Linked DNA regions of Homo sapiens: all the other regions are linked to region 1. Evidence: promoter capture Hi-C in human tissues and cell types (Jung and others, 2019). All regions are on one chromosome and are shown on one strand. The core of a region is centred on a gene start or on the middle of the fragment in contact, and the rest is flanking DNA. Distances in the headings are between cores, read along the strand shown. Region 1 holds the start of RAB3B (RAB3B, member RAS oncogene family). Region 2 overlaps NRDC (nardilysin convertase). Region 3 overlaps OSBPL9 (oxysterol binding protein like 9). Region 4 overlaps ZFYVE9 (zinc finger FYVE-type containing 9).

Region 1 (2,948 bases), core at 397-2,896:
CAGAGTTTGTTGACAAAAGAACAGGATTCTAGAAGGCACAGAGGAAAGAGCTGCCAGTGTGATGGGCAGTGTGAGTGAAAGGGCTGGGCAAGAAGCTCAGAAGAGTAAGCGTCTGAGGCAGAGGCCAGACAAGCAGAGGAGCTGTCAGCTTGGGTGGTTCCTAGGCTGGAGATGTACACTGTAGACAGGGTCATAATGGAACTTGGGGGGAAAATGGTTTTGGTATTTGACTCAGACCTCTAAGATCTGAGATGGGGGAGAAGTGTGGGGAAAGACAATGATTCTAGAGCAAGCCTTCAGCTGGCTCCTGTGACCTCAGGAAGACTGGAAGTCCATATCAGGATTTGAGGGTGGGGTATTTATTGCCTCCTCTATCTGCCTCCTCTAGTGGAAGTGGGACTTCCTAGGGCCAGGCCAGGCAAGAACATTTTTCTACTCCTGTTGACAGCCTCCTGGTAATGGGAAACCATTGAGAGGTTTTTGTTTGTTTGTTTGTTTGGTTTTTGATGGAGTCTGGCTTTGTTGCCCAGGCTGGAGTGCACTGCTGGAGTGCAGTGATCTCGGCTCACTGCAACCTCTGCCTCCTGGGTGCAAGCAATTCTGCCTCAGCCTCCCAAGTAGCTGGGACTACAGGCATGCACCACCATGCCCGGCTAATTTTTGTATTTTTAGTAGAGACAGGGTTTCACCATGTTGGCCAGGTTGGTCTCGAACTCCTGACCTCAAGTGATCTGCCCACTTTGGCCTTCCAAAGTGCTGGGATTACAGGCGTCAGCCACTGTGCCTGGCCGAGAGTTTTCTTAAACAAGGTTGATGGTAACATGGTGACATTTTTTAAAGGGTTGCTCGGGCTTGTGTCAAAATGATTTTGGTATCTGACTCAGAATGAATGGGACCAGGAAGTCTCACAGCTACCGAAGTCACCAGGAGTATGGCAGAACAGGGGCTAGTTAGGATGACCATGGGCCAGGGGCTGCAATCTTTAATGCATAAGGAACAATTGGGTGTCAGTGATGAGGAGGGGTGGAGGGTGGTATGACTGGAGACCACAGGAGAAAGAATTTTTGTACAAGGGTGGAAATGGCCATGCTGACACCACGTCCTGGTTTTATAGGGTGAATTGGAGAGTGAAGGCAGGAATTAGGAAGCTGTTGCATTAGTCCAAGCAAGAAGTGATGATGCTGGAGTCAGAACAAGGGCAATGGAGACACAGAGGAAGGGCAGGGATATGTTAAGGCGGTGGGATGTGGGGTGTGAAGGAAACACAGATAGGGTAGAGGACAGCGTCCAGGTTTCTGGCTTGGTTTCCGCTTGTAGTCAGCCTCCCTCTCTGGGCTTTTGTGAAGACGGAGCCATAGAACGGACCGGACCAGAAAGCAGTTTGGAAATGGCAAAACTGCTACCCATCATCAGCTACATTATCATCAAAGCTCTCTAATTACCCTAGTAAGTTCAGTCAATGGAACGAGGCATGACAATTAAGATAAATCACGAGAGTCACCCAGACATGGGGGACCTGGAGGTCCTGAGTCACCTCGGATTACACCTGCTAGGAGTTGAGGGCCGGGGCGGGGCGAACACAGACTCCGCCCTTGGGCGGGGCCTGGATGCGGCCGGAGCGGAGCAGTGCTGGAGCGGGAGCCTCAGCCCTCAGGCGCCACTGTGAGGACCTGACCGGACCAGACCATCCCGCAGCGCCCCGCCCCGGCCCCCTCCGCGCCCTCCCGACGCCAGGTCCTGCCGTCCCGCCGACCGTCCGGGAGCGAACCCGTCGTCCCGCACTCGGAGTCCGCGGTAAGGGGCGCGGCCCCGGCAGCCCGCCCGCGGAGGATCAGGGACCGATCCCCGGCGCGGGGCGCTGGGCACCGAGAGCGGGCGCCGAGAAGGAGCGCGGGGCAGCGGAAGGAAGCCGGGGGAGGAGCGAGGGAGGGGGCTCCGCGGCGGCAGAGGTGGGGCTCACCTAGGGAGGGGGCGCCGAGGGGGTCTCCCAGACGTTGGGGGCAGCCGGGGGAGCTCCAAGGGCGGGAGGGGAGCAAGAAAGACGGCGCTGGGGCTGGGAGGAGAGATGGGGGGCAACTGGAGGGCAGTGAGGGATCGCTGGGGGAAACGGGGGCGTGGGGGGCGGGGGAGCTGCGAGGAGGGCGGAGTGGGGCTGTGCGGAAAGGTGGTACCGGGCAGCCGAGGGGCAGCGAAGGGGGCGGTGAAGGGAGCGGACTGAGGGGAGCTAGAGCGGGGGTGCGGGGGGAGGCATGGAGGTGAGGAGCTGAGGGGAGGGGACTGGCTGGGCGGGGGTCGTTTGGAGCTGGAGGGGACTGAGGTGCCGAGGGCAAGGGGCGCTGGGCAGCTGGGGAGTGTCTGGTTGGGAGAGGGTCGGGGGTGGGGATGTGGGTATGGATAGCTGGGAAGGAGAAAGGCAGCAGGGCAGTGTCTGGTCGAAAGAGGGTCATTTATGGGGGATGTGGGTATGGATAGCTGGGGTCGGAGGTTGAGCCCGGCTGGGGACCGGCGTGGGGGTAACTGTAGATGGAAGACGAGGGGTGGGGCTTGGGGGCGGGAAGCTTGGGAGAATGGAAGGGTGAGAGGCCAGGTTGGGTCTACCCTGCTGCAGAGGAAGGGGGCAGGGAGCCGGTGGAGACACAGGGAAGTGGCCTTGGAAATGGACACAGGGGCCTACATTCTGGTCAGGAGTGGAGAGGAGGCTCTGGAATAGAGTAGGGTCTGGCGGCTGCAAGTGGAGGAATCGTGGGAGAACTTGGAGTGTATAGATAGGGTGGTGGGGCGCTGGGTCAGCCTGGGGAGGAGGCCAGGTGTGGGTCGTGGTGTAAGGGTGGAAAGGTAATGGGGGCTGGAGTGGTGTCCACGCACTAGCGGTGTCTCGGCCACTCAGGAGTCCAAGGAGGGGACCCAGGCACTGGACCTTGTTACACGGGCACCGGGGATCACAGAAA
Region 2 (3,016 bases), core at 42-2,541, 130 kb after region 1:
TCATCCACTGTTCCTGTCTTGTAACTCCCATAGCCCTTGTTAAAGTCTTTTTGTTACAATGTTGGGTGTGTCAGGTCTCATGTGTCTAGACTTAATTTAACAAATGTTACATATATTGGTTTTCATCCATTGTTCCTGGCTTGTAACTCCCATAGCCCTTGTTAAAGTCTTTTTGTTACAATGTTGGGTGTGTCAGGTCTCATGGGCAGGCCTCAGGAAACAGAATTTCTCAGACTTTCTCCTATCCATCTCTCATCTGCCCCAAGACAAGACCCTATAATCTTCCCTGCCTTTCTGATTGGGAGTTATAAGACCCTCCTCAGAGGGCGTCCCACCCTATCCTTGGAGGAAGGAATGCTGATATTTTGAAATTTCCATAAAAACCCAGGAGGACTAGGTTCCAGAAGCTTCAGGATGGCTCAACACGTGGAGGTTCTTGGAGGGTGGCCTGCACAGGAAGGGCATAGAAGCCCTGTGCCCCTTCCCCCATACCTCACTCTGTGCATCTCTTTATCTGTAATATCCTTTACAATAAACCAGTAAATGTAAGTGTTTCCCAAAGTTCTGTGAGCCCTCCAGCAAATTAATCAAACCCAAAGAGGAGGTCGTGGGAACCCCAACTTGAAAGCCGGTAAGTCAGAAGTTCCAGAGGTCTGGACTTGAAACTGGTATGTTTGTTTGTTGGCAGGGCAGTCTTGGGGACTGAGCCCTCATCCTGGGGGATCTGATGCTATTTCCAGGTAGTGTTGGAGCTGATTTGGAGGACACCCAGTTGGTGTCCACTGAAGAATTAATTGCACGGATTTGGTCACAGAAGACTTTGGTTGCTGACCATTGTAGTAGTATGAGAGAAAAAGAAAAACCGTTTGAGAGTTTTTCCTAGAAATGAAATACCTAGAAATGAAATTACTGAATGAAAAGTATTCAGAGTTTCCATTAAAAATAAAAATGGCTGTATTTCCCTACAAGAATGTGATACCATTTGAGATTCATCAGAAATGTGTGAGAATAATCTGTCCACTTATCAGCACTGGATAGCAATTGTTTTTATTTTTTGTTTAGTTAATTTGTTGGATGAAAAATATTTCATTAAGTTGATTGTCTTTTATTTCTAGTGAGATTGCGCATCATTTTATTTGACATCTTGTGTTCTTGTAATGTGTGTAGTATATATTATTATTATCATTATTATTTTTTTTTGACACAGAGTCTCCATCTGTCACCCATGCTGGAGTGCCATGGCGCAATCTTGGCTCACTGCAACCTCTTCCTCCCTGGCTCAAGTGATCCTCCAGCCTCAGACACCTGAGTAGCTGGGATTACAGGGGTGCGTCACCATACCTAGCTACTTTTTTTTGTATTTTTTGTAGAGACAGGGTTTTGCCATGTTGGCCAGGCTGTATAGCACATATTTTTAAGCTTATTTTTTAATAGGGTTTTTTTCTCTTAATGATTTGAAGGAACTCTTACATGTTGTTAGTTTTTCCTCCCAGTATGCAATTTGCTGTTTGATTTTGTTTATGATATTGTTTTATAAAAACTTAAAATTAGTATACAGTGAACTCTTTTCATTTTTTTTTTCTTTATAAGGGCTTGGATTTTTTATCTTGTTTGGTACAAATTTTCTTCACCCAAATATTATACCAATTTTTTTTTCTTAAATAAAAACATTCTTTCCTTTTAGCTCTGTTATAGAACTGAACTTGGGTCTGCTCGCCTGGCACAATAAGGACATAACCACACTGAGGTTTTGCAGCAGTAGAAAGGAAGGCATTTATTTTCAGGATGCTACGCAAAGAGGACCAGGTAGCTAATGCTTAAATCCTGACCTCCCCGATGATTTGCAGGTAAGGGTTTTTAAAGGCAGTGGTAAATTTCTGGATAGCAGAAGTTACAGACAAAATCATAAACCATACATGGAGGGTTACACACTGATTTTGGCCTAAAAGGTTGGGATATCTTGAAGCAGTGGTGTATAGGTCATAGGTACAGTAGAAGATTTTCTGATTTGCAGTTGGTTAAGGAGGCAAAGCTTTTTCTAAAAATTTGAGATCAGCAGAAAAGAATGTTAGCACTGGCTCATGGGTATAACCTTCTCCAGGCCCCTCAGAAAGAAATTTAGAACAAAGAAGGGGAGTCAGAGTTCAGTCCCCAGTTCCTCTCTATATGAGGTTGCTGTGCTGGCAGATCCTTTTGGTGTGGGCACAGGTTTCTGAAAAACAACTGGAGACATGTTAAGGTATTATCTTTAGTTTTTATAGGGAAGCAAACATTCTTGTGACTCTTAACTTCCTTGGCTATTTTTGTTGTTGTTAGAGATGGGGTCTCGCTATGTTGCCCAGACTGGTCTTGAACTCCTGGCCTCAAGTGATCCTCCCACCTTGGCCTCCCAAAGAGTTGGGATTACAGGTGTCAGCCACCATGCTGGGCCAGCTTGGCTGTTGTTACTGTTACCTGCTTGTTTATCAAGTTGCACATTTATTTTTCAGGGCTAGCTAGGTGCCTGAAGTTTCCTTTGAAATAACTGAAGATTTTCCTTTTTTCTATGCTTGGGGTCCCTGCGTCATCTCAATTCCCCATCTTTTGTCACCCATCAATCTTGTGGGGTACTGGGGTGCAGACTGCTCTGCCTACTTCCTGTTGAATTGGGGCAAAGATTGAGGACTAGGATATGAGGATATTAAGTTTCTTTTCTTTATTTTTTTGAGATGGCATCTTGCTCTGTCGCCCAGGCTGGAGTGCAGTGGCATGATCTCGGCTCACTGTAACCTCTGCCTCCTGGGTTCAAGCGATTCTTCTGCCTCAGCCTCCTGAGTAGCTGGGACTACAGGTGTGCACCTCTACGCCTGGCTATTTTTTGTATTTTTAGTAGAGACAGAGTTTCCTCATATTAGCCAGGCTGGTCTCAAACTCCTGACCTCGTGATCCACCCGCCTCGGCCTCCCAAAGTGCTGGGATTACAGGTGTGAGCCACCGCCCCTGGCTGAGGATAGTAAGTTCCTAGCACGGAATTCAA
Region 3 (2,906 bases), core at 363-2,862, 220 kb after region 1:
CTTGGTACAACTTCTTACCACTTTAGATAACGCAGAATTATAAACCACCGAGTAAAAATGCTGAAGAAGAAAACATGGATAAATACCTTTAATGTATAAACAGCTCTTACAACTCAAGATGAAGATCACTACTCCAGTAGATAAATGGACAAAGGAACTGAACAGCCAAAAAACATTTTTAAAAAGTTTAATTTCACACGTAATTTAAAAAAAATAAATATTTTTTTCTTCTACTTAGGATTTTTCTGAGAACTCTTATTTAACAGATTTTCTTCAATGTTTGTAGTGCTATACTGATACATGCTATTAAGTCAAACTGCTGTAACAGTGATGAAGAGAGCTGGGTTTAGCTGTCTTCAACCTGGGTTCAAGAGCTTGTTTAGCCTCTTCTTAGCTGTGAGGAGGCCCTGAAAAATTAACTCAATTTCTCTAAGTACCTGAAAAGGAAGATAATTACATGCCCTGCTTATATGTTAGGGTTCTTTTATTTTAAAGACTGAGTGAGGTTAAATGGGATGTGACTGTGTAGTATTTTTAAAAACTACAAAGTATTTGGAAAACAAACTCTTTTTGGAAAGTATCTGAAGTGAGAAAACATTCTTATAAAAGACACAAATTTAAGGCATTATTGTAACAATACTTTGGAATGCATAAAAGGAACCAAGATTTCAGAATCTGTTGGCAATCACAGCCATTTGTGCCAATAAAAATTTCAAAAATGACTTATTTTAAACACATTCAGTAAAAAATAATTATGATAATATCATTTATAATATAACAAGCTTTTAGCAGCTATGGACTCAAATATGGTTTATTTGGCAGAGAAAATTATGTGAGGCAAGAATTACAAACTTGATTGTGGCAAATACATCTGGTTGCCTCTCCCCATCCATGCTTCACCCCCAAGAACTCTGATTCAGTTCAGGTTCAGCTGTGGGCTGCCATGGCCTTCTCTTCCACGTCTCAAGGGGTGAATGTGGATTCATTTAAACCAATCATTTAGCCTCCCCCTTGCCAGTGGCAGGTTTAGGCACGAGCATATGCCTGATACTGGCCAATGAGATTCAACAGGAAGCCTAATGAGCCACTCCTGGAAAACAACGTCCTTCCTAACAACAACAACAACAACAACAACAACAACAACAACAACGCCAGCAGCTGTACAATCTAATGATTACTGAAGCAATTCCGGGGACAAACTCCTGCAAATGTTCTCCTACCTAGAACATTCCTAGTAAGTGTGTTGGGCTCCACAAATAAAAGTTGTCCTTGTGTCTCTGTTCTCACTTAGATTAGGGGTAAAAGGTTTTATTACAGACACTTACTTGAAGGTATTATGAATTAGTCTTTTTCTTAATGGCCCTCTAAATCCAAAACAAAAAGGAGTTCACTACTGACAAAGACTATAACACTGGAATTGATTTTGCCCTAACAAAAGTGAGAACTCTAAATTTAATCAACTCCCCAAAGCTCGGCAGAACAATAATCAATATGAAAGTTAATACAGTTCAAGCCTTCAAGACAAAGGCAGTAGTGGAAAGATTACAGGTTTTAAAATCATGGAGCAGATTAGAATCTCAGTCTGCCACTTAATATGACTTAACACGACTCAGCCACATTACTTAACTTCTGAGTTTTAGTTTCCTGATGAAATGAAGTTAATAACACCTACTCTGTGGTACTGTGGTGAGAATTAAGTGAAAGGAGGGGGTTTTCTAGCACAGTGGCAGGAATATACAAAGGCACCCATACACCAGTCTCCTAATTCAAGCATGCATTCTGTTGAGAGCTCCAAGTTTAAATTCAAATTCAAATCCAGACTATGGTAATTTTGCATGACTCAATATGTGTCATTTTGCGTGCCTGTAGTCCCAGCTACCAAGGAGGCTGAGGCAGGAGAATCGCTTGAACCTGGGAGACAGAGGTCACAAATATGTCACAATTTTACATTTACTACCTCTTCCAATCCTTACAATAACCCTCTGAAACAGGTTACTATGTGTCCAATTTGCATAGAGAACCCTGAAGTCCACAGAGGAAGAAACAGAAGAAACTCACTGAAGACCGTGCGTGGTTTGCTAATATTAGAGGTAGGACGAAAACACAGATCCTCTGACCCTAAGATTAGAACTCTACCAAATCTTAATCCATACAACTCATACACACTGTTCTCTATGAAATTATCCTAGCTTGACTTATTTCATCATTTATAAAATTTTGTTTACTTATCTACATCTATATTAAATCACAAGAAGACACAGGTATAAAAAGAAATTATGTCATTTTACTACATTTGCAGGCACACTCACCACGCAATCACTGAGAATCCATACATACCCACACAGACTTACAGCAAATTTGGTCTTACCTTAGTAAGATCCATTCCAAGTCTAACCTGCGACAAGAGATGCATGATAACGCTCTTGTGCTCCTCCACAGACCCTGCCTCCGCATCATCATCTCTGTCATCATGTGAATCAAACAGGTCTAAAATAAAGCAGATCTTATTAGAATGGTGCTAAATTGGGCCAATCTGTCCTGATACTAGAATTACAATTTTGTTTGTTTGTTTGTTTGAGATGGAGTCTCATTCTTTCGCCCAGGCTGGAGTGCAATGGCACGATCTTGGCTCACTGTAAACCTCCATCTTCCAGGTTCAAGCAATTCTCCTGAATCAGCCTCCTTGGCAGCTGGGATTACAGGCACGCACCACCATGCCCAGCTAATTTTTTGTATTTTTTTAGTAGAGATGGGGTTTCACCATGTTGGTCAGGCTGGTCTTGAACTCCGGACCTCAAGTGATCTGCCCACCTCGGTCTCCCAAAGTGCTGGGATTACGGCATGAGCCACCACATCTGGCCACAAATATTTTTAAAGAAAAAAAAGTTAAATTATCAAAGGTCACT
Region 4 (2,700 bases), core at 32-2,531, 160 kb before region 1:
CCCTATCATCAAAGAATCTGGCAATGCATCTGCAAGTAAAAGCTTCAACAATTTACCTAATGACTGTAAATAAAAGTTATTAACCAGGAGCATGGTGGCTCATGCCTGTAATCCCAGCACTTTGGGAGGCTGTGGGTGGATCATTTGAGGTTAGTAGCTCCAGACCAGCCTAGCCAACATAATGAAACCTCGCCTCTATTGAAAAAAAAAAAGTTATGAACCGCAGATAGAGCCTTACATTACCACTTCACACTCATTAGGATGGTTATAATCAAAAAAACAGATAACAAGTGTTGGTGAGGACGTGAAGAAATTGGAACCTTCATACAACGCAGGTGGGATTGTAAAAAGGTGCAGCTACTTTGTAAAAACAATCTGATAGTTTCTCGAAAGGTTAAACATACAGCTACCATTTGGCCCAGCAATTCCATCCCTATAAATACCCAAGAGAAATGAAAGCATATTTCCACACAATAATTTGCACATGAATGTTCACAACAACATTATTTATAGTAGCCAAAAAGTGGAAACAGCCCTAACTGATGAATAAAATGTGGTATTTCCATACAATGGAATATTATTCAGCAATAAAAAGAAATGAAGTACTGACACTTGCTACTGAACCCTAAAACTATTATGCTAAGTAAGAGAAACCAGTCATATATCGTATGATTCCACTTACATGAAATGTCTCGATAGGCAAATCCATAGAGGCAGAAAGTACATTAGCGGTTGCCTAGGGCTGGGAGGATTAGGGAGATCCTGGGAGTGACTGTTAATGGGTACAAGTTTCTCTTTGGAGTGATTAAAATGTTCTAAAATTAGACAGCAGTGATGTTTGCACAACTCTGTGAATATATAATACTGTTCTAACTTTTCCAGTTCCGTAAATGGGCTATTTACCATAATTTAAAAGAAAAATATAAGTATTAATTAATTTGTAAAATAGAAAATACTTTATGCGTTGAGTATCCCTTATCTAAAATACTTGGAACCAGAAGCATTTGGGACAGATTAGAATTCTGACGCAAGTCTAAACACAAAATTCATTTGTTTCATGTATACTTATACGCATAGCCTAAAGGTAACTTTATACACTATTTTTAATAATTTTGTACATGAAACAAAGTTTTGACCATTTTGATTGTGACCCATCACATGAGATCAGGCGTGGAATTTTTCCACTTGTGAGATCATGTCAGTGCTCAAAAAGTTTTGGACCTTTGAGCATTTCGAATTTCAGACTTTTGGATTAGGGATGCTCAACCTGTAAAAACAGCACTTTTCAAATTATTTTATTAAATAAATTTTACCATTATAAAATATAAGGTATTCTACTACATAACTAAATGCTAATTCTACTGACACCTTGGTTCCTCCTTAATTTAGCAATCTCTAATACTTCAAAATTAGATTATGCTGATTTTACTTATTAATAGTAAACTACATAAATAATTAACAATCTTTCAACCTCTTTTTTTCAAAACTCAGAGAAATATATTTTCCAATTCCAGAGTCCGGATTTACCAGGACTCATGGGACTGAACTATAGCTCTGATTTACCCATTATATCATTTAATACTTACAATAATCCTGTAAGGTGACTATTATCAGTTGCATTTTATAGAAAAGAAAATTGAGACTTAAAGAGGGTAACAAACTTGTCCAAGGTTATAAGAAAAGACTGGCAGGCTATAAAATCTAGTTCTAGCCTACTGTAGTTTATAAGGAAAAATCTATGTTCTGAAAACAGTTCTTAAGTAAATTTAATAAATTGAGAGTTTTTTGAAAACTAAATATATGAACTATTTCTATTCAGTGCCTGCAACTACATCTTTTCCAATGATTATTATATACAGTTGTCTCTCTGTATCTGTGGAGGACTGGTTCCAGGAACCCACAGGATACCACAATCTGTGGATGCTCAAATCCCTTATATAAAATGGCACAGTATTTGCATATAACCTATGAACATCCTCCTGTATACTTTAAATAATCTCTAGACTACTTACAATGCCAAATACAATTGTAAGTGCTATGCAAATCAACTGTTATACTGTATTGGGTTTTTATTTGTATTATTTTTATTATTGTATGATTACTTTTGTGTGTGTGTGTGTGTGTGTGTGTGTGTGGATATTTTTGAGCCTTGGCTGGGAGGACCCACAGATACAGAGATCTGACTGTACTAAGAATGTTGCTCTATATAATGCAGGTCAAGTATACACAAGTAAAATTAAAGATCAATGTAAAACTCTGAAAATAAATAATTTGCAACAAGTGTACCCTATATAAAGGGAATACTAATTTATTGGCTAAAAATGAAATGGAAAACATACTAAAATCGAAATTGTTTTCCATAAAAAATTCCAAATCCCAAAAGTAGACTTAGTCTAAAAAAAATAAAGCAACCAAGTTTTAAGTCATGCAGAAATCCCAATGCCTGATTTTTGTTTTTCCCAAAAGGAAGAAAGAAATGTACATTTATTGAGCACCTCCTACATGACAAACACTGAGCTAATTGCTTTCGGTTACTTTTATCTCATGGAACCTGTTCTACTTTGCTAGGAGGGGTAGTGTTACCCCAATAGTACATAAGAAACTCAGAATCTAAATGTCACATCGCTTTAAGAGGTGTAGTAAGGATTCCTGCTCACATCTGACTCCATACTCTGTACCACATTATGCAATTAACAACCA

The links. The method cuts DNA at HindIII sites, captures the fragments that hold promoters and counts their contacts. A contact is called where the count stands out against the background at its distance.
Region 2: a contact is called between a fragment that was not itself captured here and the fragment with the promoter of RAB3B in region 1, in 3 of the 25 tissues and cell types used here (dorsolateral prefrontal cortex, mesenchymal stem cells and spleen).
Region 3: a contact is called between a fragment that was not itself captured here and the fragment with the promoter of RAB3B in region 1, in 4 of the 25 tissues and cell types used here (dorsolateral prefrontal cortex, mesenchymal stem cells, pancreas and 1 more).
Region 4: a fragment that was not itself captured here is called in contact with the fragment with the promoter of RAB3B in region 1 in 2 of the 25 tissues and cell types used here (ovary and spleen).

Annotation. Positions count from the first base shown.
Region 1 is chr1:51,989,398-51,992,345 of GRCh38, reverse strand. It overlaps RAB3B (RAB3B, member RAS oncogene family), which reads left to right and starts at 1,646. Exons shown (of 5, transcript NM_002867.4): 1 at 1,646-1,794. RefSeq lists a silencer at 1,623-1,732. The HindIII fragment of the contact is 14,307 bases long and covers 1-2,948 here.
Region 2 is chr1:51,854,057-51,857,072 of GRCh38, reverse strand. The region is part of intron 1 of NRDC (nardilysin convertase); the gene reads left to right. Among named protein-coding and RNA genes, the nearest start is that of MIR761, 19 kb to the right of the region's middle. The HindIII fragment of the contact is 3,238 bases long and covers 1-2,910 here.
Region 3 is chr1:51,772,186-51,775,091 of GRCh38, reverse strand. It overlaps OSBPL9 (oxysterol binding protein like 9), which reads right to left. Exons shown (of 24, transcript NM_024586.6): 14 at 2,369-2,487. Among named protein-coding and RNA genes, the nearest start is that of MIR761, 63 kb to the left of the region's middle. The HindIII fragment of the contact is 3,384 bases long and covers 1-2,906 here.
Region 4 is chr1:52,145,463-52,148,162 of GRCh38, reverse strand. All of the region lies in intron 1 of ZFYVE9 (zinc finger FYVE-type containing 9), which reads right to left. All of the region lies in intron 4 of LOC107984956 (collagen alpha-2(I) chain-like), which reads right to left. Among named protein-coding and RNA genes, the nearest start is that of ZFYVE9, 4.7 kb to the right of the region's middle. RefSeq lists an enhancer at 1-302. The HindIII fragment of the contact is 5,601 bases long and covers 1-2,700 here.